Linked DNA regions of Homo sapiens: all the other regions are linked to region 1. The links are contacts of gene promoters, found by promoter capture Hi-C in blood cells and fetal thymus (Javierre and others, 2016). All regions are on one chromosome and are shown on one strand. The core of a region is centred on a gene start or on the middle of the fragment in contact, and the rest is flanking DNA. Distances in the headings are between cores, read along the strand shown.

Evidence for each region. The method cuts DNA at HindIII sites, captures the fragments that hold promoters and counts their contacts. A CHiCAGO score of 5 or more calls a contact.
Region 2: a fragment that was not itself captured here is called in contact with the fragment with the promoter of NFKBID in region 1 in 2 of 17 cell types (activated CD4 T cells and fetal thymus); the score reaches 7.4 in activated CD4 T cells.
Region 3: a fragment that was not itself captured here is called in contact with the fragment with the promoter of NFKBID in region 1 in 2 of 17 cell types (fetal thymus and activated CD4 T cells); the score reaches 6.0 in fetal thymus.

The regions. Positions count from the first base shown.
Region 1 is chr19:35,898,762-35,901,995 of GRCh38, reverse strand. NFKBID (NFKB inhibitor delta) reads left to right here and starts at 1,456. Exons shown (of 12, transcript NM_139239.5): 1 at 1,456-1,554; 2 at 3,174-3,234. The coding sequence starts at 1,494. RefSeq lists a silencer at 1,423-1,572 and enhancers at 1,472-2,027, 1,933-2,182, 2,028-2,584, 2,597-3,168, 3,169-3,234. The HindIII fragment of the contact is 4,662 bases long and covers 1-3,222 here.
Region 2 is chr19:35,636,453-35,639,787 of GRCh38, reverse strand. RBM42 (RNA binding motif protein 42) reads right to left here. Exons shown (of 10, transcript NM_024321.5): 9 at 2,436-2,630; 10 at 2,103-2,346. The coding sequence ends at 2,234. Among named protein-coding and RNA genes, the nearest start is that of ETV2, 3.6 kb to the left of the region's middle. The HindIII fragment of the contact is 186 bases long and covers 1,264-1,449 here.
Region 3 is chr19:35,547,910-35,551,144 of GRCh38, reverse strand. It overlaps ATP4A (ATPase H+/K+ transporting subunit alpha), which reads left to right. Exons shown (of 22, transcript NM_000704.3): 20 at 34-135; 21 at 220-311; 22 at 502-1,114. The coding sequence ends at 530. Among named protein-coding and RNA genes, the nearest start is that of TMEM147-AS1, 3.5 kb to the right of the region's middle. The HindIII fragment of the contact is 2,360 bases long and covers 289-2,648 here.

The DNA.
Region 1 (3,234 bases), core at 207-2,706:
CAAGGAAGTGAGTGCAGACAGGATTCTGCCCCTATCACAACACACACTGAATGGGGGAAGAGGAGGAACTTTGCCAGGGAAATGGAGAAAGAGGGAGGGGACCCCTGAGAGCATGGCATCTTGAAAGCAGGGGAGAGGCCACCGCAGTGGCTCATGCCTGTAATCCCAGCACTTTGGGAGGCCAAGGTGGGGGGATCACCTGAGATCAGGAGTTCAAGCCAATATGGTGAAACCCCGTCTCTACAAAAATACAAAAATTACCCGGGCATGGTGTCAGGCTCCTGTAATCCCAGCTACTTGGGAGACTGAGGCAAGTGGAGGTTGCAGTGAGCCGAGATCTCACCACTTTGCCACTGCACTCCAGCCTGGGCGACAGAATGAGACCCTCTCTCTAACAATAAAAATGTAATAATAAAATAAAATAGAAAAGCAAGCAAGCAGGGGAGAAATAGGGCCAACATGGTCAGTGCTGTGAAAGGTCACCAAGTGAAACTGAGAGTGGCCTCCCACTGGAATGCCAGCTCCAGGGCTGGGAATTCCTGCCTGCTTAGTTCACAATACACAGCAAAATGCCTCCTCTGCTGCAATAAATTATTTTAAATGATGAATGAGTAAATGAAACCAGACCTCTAAAAAGGGTGATGTAGGGGAGAGGGAGAAATTGAGCCACACCCTATACCCTTACCCACAGACCCTTCCTCTGGGAGTCTAGACCCCCAGTCCTGCCTCCCTCTGGACCCAGTAATATTCTCCCTGCCCCCACCCCATCTCCATCCCCACTCCTACCCCTACCCCCATGGGCAGGACCCAGGAGACAAAGCCTCCAGCACCCCCTTAGACACAGACCCAGAAATCCAGGCCCCAGCCAGGCACCATGGCTCAAGCCTGTAATCCCAGCACTTTGGGAGGCCAAGGCAGGCGGGTCACCTGAGGCCAGGAGTTCGAGACCAGCCTGGCCAACACGGTGAAACCCCATCTCTCCTAAAAATACAAAAATTAGCCAGGCATGGTGTCCAGCACCTGTAGTGTCAGCTACTCGGGAGGCTGAGGCAGGAGAATCGCTTTAATTCAGGAGGCGGAGTTTGCAGAGATCGCACCATTGCACTCCAGCCTGGGCGACAGAGACTCCTTCTCAAAAACAACAACAAAAAAAAAAAAAAAAAAAAAAGAAAAGAAAAAAAAGAAAAAGAAAAGAAAAGAAATCCAGGCCCCCCGGTTTCTCCCTCCTCTTGGAGCCCGGTGCCCTAGGCTCCTTCAGAGCAAAGATCTGGACCCCAGCTCCCTCCTTCCCGGGGGGACTGAGTAGTCCGCCTCCCAAGTCCGCCGCGCCCATTCAGGGACTGCGTTCGCCGGAGCGCGACCCGGGGACTCCCAGGCCTGTGGGCGGGCCCTGCCCAGGACTGGGCGGTGCCATAACCCCTAGTTTAAAAACTCGCGGGTACCGGACCCAAGATCGGGGACCCGGCGGCGGCTCCGCGGGGGAAACAGCGAGGCTGGCGCAGCGCCGAGGCCGCGGCCCTGGGGGCCCGCAATCCACGCCACGGAATCCCCGAGGTAATGGGCGCGGGCAGGACGCGTTCGGCCCCCTAAGAGAGTGAGGGACTGAGGATCGAAAGACTCCCGAGGCCCTGAGGGACGGAGCTGAAGCGTCAGTCCTTTATCCCGAGAGTGAGGGCCCTAGGTGTTTGGAGGAGGAGGGGATCGTGGATCGTGACAGAGGGGCGGCTGGGATCCCAGACTTCTGGGTCCTGGGGGTGCAGGGGCCTGGGGATCCAGGATCGCAGGGCCCCGAGGGTGCAAGGGCTGGGAGGCTTGGGAGGCTGGATCTCTGGGTCCTTGGAGGTGCTAGGGGTTGCTGGCAACCGAGACTCCTACCCCTAGAAGCAGGGACTAGGCTGAGTGCGGGGGGGGGGGGGGGGGGCGTGGTTGCTTAAAATCGGCGTGGGTCTCGGTGGGGAAGGGTCCGGAGCCTGGCCTCAGGGTCTACGCTGGCGGTGACCCTGCCTCTGCCCCGCCCTGGGATTTCCGGATGGCCACCCGTGCGGGGCTGAGCAGGAATTCCCCTTGCGCGGGGATTCCACGAGCGCCACGATCGGCCGCGCGCCCCGCCTCGGAGCAGGACACCTGGGGCACAGGACTTGGGGGGAAGGGGAGGATGGAAGATTCCCTTGCGTGAGCGCCGTGGCGTCAGCGCGCCGCGTCGGGGCTGTTTCCGAGCCACCTCCTCCCGCCCCCGCCCCGCGCAATCCCCACTTAACCCTTCCTCCGCCGGAACCCAGGCTCGGAAGGGTGAGGGTTCTGTCTTTCTGAGTCGTGGGAAGGAGTTTGGGAACTGGGGCTCCCAGGTCCTAGAGAGGAAGGAACTGAGGGTCCAGATTCCTGGGGCCTGAAAAAGAGACTGTATGGATGGGCCTTTTTTTTTTTTTTTTTTTTTTTTTAATGGAGTCTCTCTCTGTCGCCCAGGCTGGAGTGCAGTAGCGCGATCTCCGCTTACTGCAACCTCAACCTCCGCCTCCCGGGTTCAAGTGTTTCCCCTGCCTCACCTGGGATATACAGCCGCCTGCCACCACGCCCGGCTAATTTTTATATTTTTAGTAGAGACGGGGTTTCACCATGTTGGCCACCTGACCTCAGGTGATCCGCCCCCCTTGGCCTCTCAAAGTGTTGGGATTACAGGCGTGAGCCACCGCTCCCGGCCCGGGGTGAGGCCTTTGACTTCTCGAGGAGGGGCGCTGGGGACTCCTGATTTCCGGGTCAGGTTCTAGGGAAAAAAATGTTGGGAACCTGGATGTGAGTCTAGGGAGTGACGCCTGGCGCCGGCCCCCCACCAACCCGCTGACTTCAAAACTTGGATATCTGGGGGTGGAATTTTTTTACGGAAGTGGGGTGGTTGCTGCAGAGGGGTGCCCTCCTCCCCCTTCCTCACTTTCCGCGACGGTGGTGGAAAGTTGGGTCAGAGGGAAAGTGCGGAGCAAAAGGAAGGAAACGGCGGAGGCGGATGCCCCACCCCAAATCTTCTAATGGCTTTGGAGGAGTCAGGCGGCATCTATGTGCCAGTTTTTCCGCGCGGGAGGGCGAGGAGGGTGCCCAAACCCACTCCCCGCGCGCCACCCCCGCGGCATTTAGGTGACTTAAGGACCCTTGATGACTTCCCCCTCTCCTCTCCCGCACAGTGAGCAGGGGTGAGCGCAGCCACTGCCCAACGCAAACCGTGAAGAAGCTTCTGGAAGAGCA
Region 2 (3,335 bases), core at 107-2,606, 260 kb after region 1:
TCTGATGGTTCTCATCTCTGCCTCTGAGCCTCCTGCTCACAGCGCCATCTCTACCTCTGCTTGCCACATTCTATGTGTGTGTGTCTCTTCTTGTTCTCAGGAAGACTTGTGTGCATTAAAAAAAAAGATAAACATTTAGGGGGTACAAGTGCAGATTCCTTACTGGATATATGTCAGTATATCCAGTATACTGGCCTGGGCCTTTAGTGCACCCGAATGGTGAGCAACGTACCCAACTGGTAACTGTTCAGCTTCCCCCACGCTCCCACCTTTTGGAGTCTGCAGTGCCTGTTACCCCACTCTGCATGTCCACGTGTACCTGCTGTTCTGCTCCCACTTGGAAGTGAGAATCACATGCATTTGGAAGCGTCCTTTCTGGAGCCATCCTCTCTTCCCATCTCCTCCCGTGACCCTATGCTTGCTGTCAGTACAAGGGGGGTCAGGGGTAGAAAAGACTAGTGATGGGGGGAAGGGGCTTTGAGGATCCTGGGGCTGGGTGGTCTGGCCCAGGTGGCAGGGGGCTAAAGGGCACTTCCTGCCAGGGAGGCTCTCACCCTCTGACCAGACTGGAAAATGTGACGTCAGAGAGGGGGCAGTAAGGCGGGGAAGACAGGAACAGGAGAAATTCGACACCTCTCCTGGGGGACCTCGGTCCCTGAGAGGCCTTGGTATTGTCCATCCCCCGACTTATGCCCCACAAAGTCCTGCCCAACCTGCTCCCTCCTAATGGAGGGTTCCGATGGCTGTGTCCCTGGGAGACCCTCCACTCCTCCCCATACTCAAACCTGCCATCTCCCTCCTCTGGCCCAGTCCCTGCCCCAGCCTTCTAGACTTCCAGCCACAGTGGTGGTCGCAGGGCGTTTTTTTTTTTTTTTTTTTGAGACAGAATCTCACTCTGTCACTAAGGCTGGAGTGCAGTGGCGCGATCTCAGCTCACTGCAACCTCCTTTTACCAGGTTCAAGCGATTCTCCTGCCTCAGCCCTCCCAAGTAGCTGGGACTACATGTGCCCGCCACCACGCCCAACTAATTTTTGTATTTTTCAGTAGGCACAGGGTTTCACTATGTTGGCCAGGCTGGTCTCGAACTCGTGACCTCAAGTGATCTGCCTGCCTCCCAAAGTGCTGGGATTACAGGCGTGCGCCACCGCACCCAGCCGGTCACAGGGCCCTTTCTACAGCGCACATCTGTGCTGCCCAGGACCTTGCTGCTGCTTGAATTTTCTCAGCTTTTTGGGGCTTGCTGCTGCCTTCTGCGTAAAGCTTAAGCCCTCAGCCTGGCATTCAAGGCCCTGCACAGACACCTCTTCAGACAGGCAGAGGCCAGCTTGGAGCTGGGAAGAGAGGGGAACAGACCCCAAGTCTCTGTTCTCTCTATCTGTGGGTCTCTCCTCCTTTTTCATTTCCCAGCTCCAAGGGAGAGAACAGAGACCAACAGGGATATAGAAGCTTAGAGACAAGAAATGGAGGGGTACCCACAGAGACAGAGATAGAGGTGCCCACCGAGACTTAGAGCATGGTGAGCTGGCTGGGCATGGCAGACTGGAGAAGCTGGAAAGCCCCAGAGGAGACTTGGGGGTGGACGGTTCCTTCAGGAAGGGCCCCCTCACCCACAGGTCAGCGCCCCCATCCTGCCCTGACCACTCTGGGCTCTTATCGTCAGGGCACCGGGCCTATTTTCTGCACTGGACCTTGAGCTCTAACGGTGCAGGGCCCAGGACTTTTAGTCACCATTGTGTCCTCAAGCACTGTTCAGACCCTTGGTGAGAGTCTGCTGGATGGAAGAGGGCCTAGAAGCCTGTGAGCTCCAGAAGGGAAGGGCCTAGATCTCCTACCTTGGTGCTGAGAACACAGGAAGTAGCCAGGACACGGGGATGGGCCTCAGCTTGGCTTCACCCTTGCCATTGGCCCCCCTTTCTCCTCTGGAATAAGCAGCACTCAGCATGTGTGGAAGAGGTTTGAAGAGGGAATGGGTGCGCAGGAAGGGCTCAGAAGCCCCCGCCTGGGTGTTTGCCTGGGTAAACTCTCAAGGCTCCCCGCCATTTCCAGCTGTGGGGAAGCCAAGCCCTGCTCCCCACAGCGTGCTTCCATGCCCAGCCAGGGGTGGAAATGAACGTAAATTTATTGAAACTGGTTTTGGGGCAGGGGATGGGTGGACAGCTGGGGGTTTTCCAAAGAGAACTGAGGGAGGAGCCAGCGCCCGGCCAGGTGGGAGCGGGTGCCTGGCCACAGACCCTATCTCAGGCCCAGCTTCTTCTTTTCCTTCTGCTTCTTGCGGACCACGTCCAGATTCCGGTCCTTCCACATGCTCTTGCGAAGCTTGATGGGGCGCGAGCCCACATACTTCCCTGTGGAGACAGAGGGTTCAAGGCAGGCTCGGGTCAGGCTTAGGCCAGCGCCTGCCGCGCCTGCAGTTCCCAGGGGAGGCCGCACCCACCATTCATCTCACGCATGGCGCGCACGTAGTCGCTGGGGTCCTTGAAGCTGACGAAGCCGTAGCCCTTGGTCTTGCCTGTGCGCTTGTCACGGATCACCTTGGCCTTAAGGAAGGATGGGAAGCGGCTGAAGGCGCGTGCCAAGATGTCATCGTTCACCTCATTGCCCAGATCCCCACAGAAGATCCGGAAGTCATCTGGGGATGGGGAAGAGATGACATCAGAGGATGCAGAGGCCTTGCCCAGTGTCTACCTTGTCTGAACGATCCCACCTTTTCGGAGGTATCTAGTCTCTGCCTAGGGACCTCTTAGTAATAATGGTCAACACCTACTGACCCTGCGCCAGGAGCTCTGCTGGCACCTGGAGGGGTGTTTCCATTTCTGGCACTCCCAACCATGCTTTTACACTGAGGCACAGAGAGGTGAAGTCACTGCCCACAGTGACACAAGCAGGAAGCGGCAGAGCTAAGACAAGAGCTCAGGCATCTGGCTCCAGTCCTTACTTTTAACCTTGAACTGCACTGCCCTCCCCACCCCAGGGCCACCTCACTCATTCCTGTAGTAACACCCTTAACTCTGCCCTAGCCCTGGCCTTTCCTCTGAGCCTTGGTGTCCCTTGGTCCCCTGGACCCCTGTCACCCACTGGCTGCCCGTCATGGCACCTCAGGAACATGGGCTTCATCTTTCCTCAGCCCTGCTTCCTTGGCAAGGCCTGCCCTAACTCCCCCTTGAGACCTGGACATGCTGCCTGCTCCTCCGCCATGGCTGCACCCAGCTGACATTCTCATGCTGCCTCTGAGTTGGGCCTGTGCTTCCACTGAACATGCTCTGTCCCAATGAATCCCTGTCCCCACAAGGGAGGGGATGAGGAATATGAGGCTTAAAAGGCTAAGTGAGCCAAG
Region 3 (3,235 bases), core at 219-2,718, 350 kb after region 1:
CCTAATGGCCTGTCCCATTCTGCCCACCCCCAGGAATAAGATCCTGGTGATCGCCATCGTGTTCCAGGTCTGCATCGGCTGCTTCCTGTGCTACTGCCCCGGCATGCCCAACATCTTCAACTTCATGCCCATTCGGTGAGAGGCTGTGAGGGGCAAGGACAGGGAGGGGGCTGTAGGGCACAGGCCTGGGATGGCCTTCACCTTGCCATGTGCCTTCAGGTTCCAGTGGTGGCTGGTCCCCCTGCCCTACGGCATCCTCATCTTCGTCTATGATGAGATCCGGAAGCTTGGAGTTCGCTGTTGCCCAGGGAGTGAGTGTGGAGACTGGGAGCCTGGGGGCAGGGGACTGAAACGTTTGAGCAGCTGCACCCACCTTTGATCCTCAACACTTGGCCTCTAAGCCCTTGACCCTCCATAGCAACCAGCACTGACCTCTGAGCCCCTGGCCCTGCCTAAGTGGCACCCCCAGCACTGAGTCTCCTTTCTCCCTCTCTCTCCCAGGCTGGTGGGACCAGGAACTCTACTATTAGAGGGACGACTGCCTTCAAGCATCCCTGCAACTGCCACAGCAGGTGGGGGCAGGGCTCGTGGGACCCTCTGGACAGCCACCAAGATATCTGAGCAACCAAGAGTCCCAGCCCCACCAGTATCTGCTTCTGTAGCCCACGGCACCCCAAACTTGGAGGGACCTGCCCACTCCCCTCCCCCATTCCCAAGGTTCGCACCTCCTGGAGCAGCAGCGCCTGGGCAGTCCTCTGGGCTGGCCTCGGGAAAGCCGCCACCTGTGGTGGCGGTGGGGCTCTGACAGGGAGTACAGCTGACCGCTTCTGGAGGGTGTTTCTGTTCTTAGGACTCCAGTCCAGGCTGGACGGCTGCCTGAGGGCCCTTCGTTAAAGACACGCTTGTGTCCTGGGCGATGGTAATAAAACCAGCTCATGCTGACTGTGCTGTATCTGGTGCCAGGCACTGTCCTCAGCGTCTCTCATTAGTGCTTGTGATCTCCCACAGTCCTGTACATGGGGGCTGTTTATCCAGGGCTGCACCTCCAGTGCCTAGTACACAGCCTGGCACATAGTAGGTCCTCAATAAACCTGCCTTGGGGAAATGATTCCTATTCCTTTGCCCAGGGTCATGGCATCTAAACGCAAGCTGGGCCGTGGCGATAGGCACCCCCTACCACCTCTGGGCTTTCTCTGTTCTCAGCACCCTTCTCCCTCCTGGAGGCTCCCAGACACAAGGGGGCCCAAGTCATTTCCACATCAAGCATCCCCCACCCCCCAGCGGTGTCTCCTTTCTGAGCCTACCTGCTTACTCCTCTGTCCCGGCAATGGCCAGTTCCTGAACAACTCCTGGAGGTCCCCTCCTCACACCCCTCACCTGAAAGGTTAACCCCATCCCCCTACCTCCCATCTCTGCCGCTCCTTTCCCAGCCCCTCTGTTCACCTCTCTTCCTCTTTCTTATGTGGCTTTCTCTGGCTAGGGCCTGGGCTTCTCCTTCCTTGTGACCACAGCCCCCCAGTCCCCCATGGCTTCAGTTGTTTCTGCAGTGAGACCCACCTCTGTCCCCAGCTTCCCCCAGTGTTGGTGACCTACACTGGCCTCTTCATCACCCCCCATGCCTGTACCCATGCACTGACCCAATCTGATAGTCCCACTGTCCCATCAGTGTGGTCCCTTCTCCCTTGGAAACGTGGTGAGCCCTCGGGCTTACAAGCCCCAAACTCCAGTTATCCTGGAACTCTTTGCTCCTCCCTTACCTGTTAGCGCCCCCTGCCGGTAAATAAATACACACAGCCACTGATCACCAACACCTGGGCTTGGCTTCTAGTCACTCTCCTAACCCCACAAAGCCCTGCCCTGGTCCAGCCCTGGCCTCGTGGCCTCAGCTTTCCCATTTCAGACAACAGCCATGCAGAGCTTCCTAAAGCCAAATCTGACCCTGTCCTTCCTCTGCCTAGAGCTCTCCTTGGTTCCCAAAGCCTCCTGTGATCTGACCCCTGCCAGCTTCTGTAGTCTTACAAGTCCCCTTGAACTCATTCCAACCAGTTATGTTCCCTTGGGAAAAACAGGCCCCCTCTCTGACCTCAAGACCATTACCTCTGCCTTGCCCCAATCACTCATTCTTTAGGTCTCAGCTCACATGTCCTCTGCTCAGGGGAGCCCGCACTGCTTCCACGGCAGGCCAGGCGGCTCCTCTGGGTCCCCATAACCCGGGGTTTTCCCATCATAACCCCGATCACCTGAAGCCTGGCTCCCCACAGTCCAACCGCCCAGGCTTCACCGTCCTCTGCCAACTCAGGCCCAGCCACTCCAGTCTCTCTCCCTGAACCCCATGTAAGCTGGGATTATTCCAGTTGGTAATTTTGCATCCTACACTTGTCTCAATATGTGTGAAGAGCTATGTGGGGCATGGAAGTGTGGGAGAAAGTGACCTTGTCACAAGTCCACCCAGATAGACTGCCCCATCTACTTCCTTTCTACATCAAAGTCAAGGTGATCAATCACTTCCAGCTCCCAAGAGACCCATGGACCCTGTCTTTACTCCAAACAATGAGGAAGAGTGGCCTAGATGGCAGCTGCCGTCTGAAGGCAAATGCTCCCTCTGGAAACATCGAGATGGTCATAGTGAGCTTTCCTAGGCCTAAGCTTAAAAAAAATCAGGTGGAACTTCAACGGCCTGGTGGAGGAGGAGGGGCAATGGTGCTATCCTACTCCCTGGGGTACCCCACTGGGAACACCAAGGATGGGGAGCATCTTCCTGAGTGGGGAGGGTGTACATCAAAGTGGAGCTTAAACATGACATTCAAAACTTCTGACACATCCCCCTCAGAGAAAGGCGGGGAGCCGGCTTCAGTGGACCAAGGAAGGCTGAGGGTGGAGGGGGGCATCCAGGACAATGTCCAAGCTGGGGGCCCCACTGCTCTGCTTCTTGGCTGCAGCTGTCTCTCCACTCCACCCTGAGAAGGCTCAGGCTGGGATCTGATCTGAGGGCCATAGAACTGAGGAGCTCACAGTCACAACTCTCCCCCCAGCCCCATGCTGACCCCATGGCTTGAACGATGTTAAGAATCTGGCTGGACAAATTATTCTAGGGAGCAGTTTCAGAAAAGCTGGTTTTGCTGGTTGGGTAAAACCAAAGGCCAAGCAATTGGACTGTCCACTGTGTAACAAGGGGCCGCAAGTGGCTGCAAGTGGGAGGATGACCTGGTTAGACGGGTTTCAGATAGATCCCCTG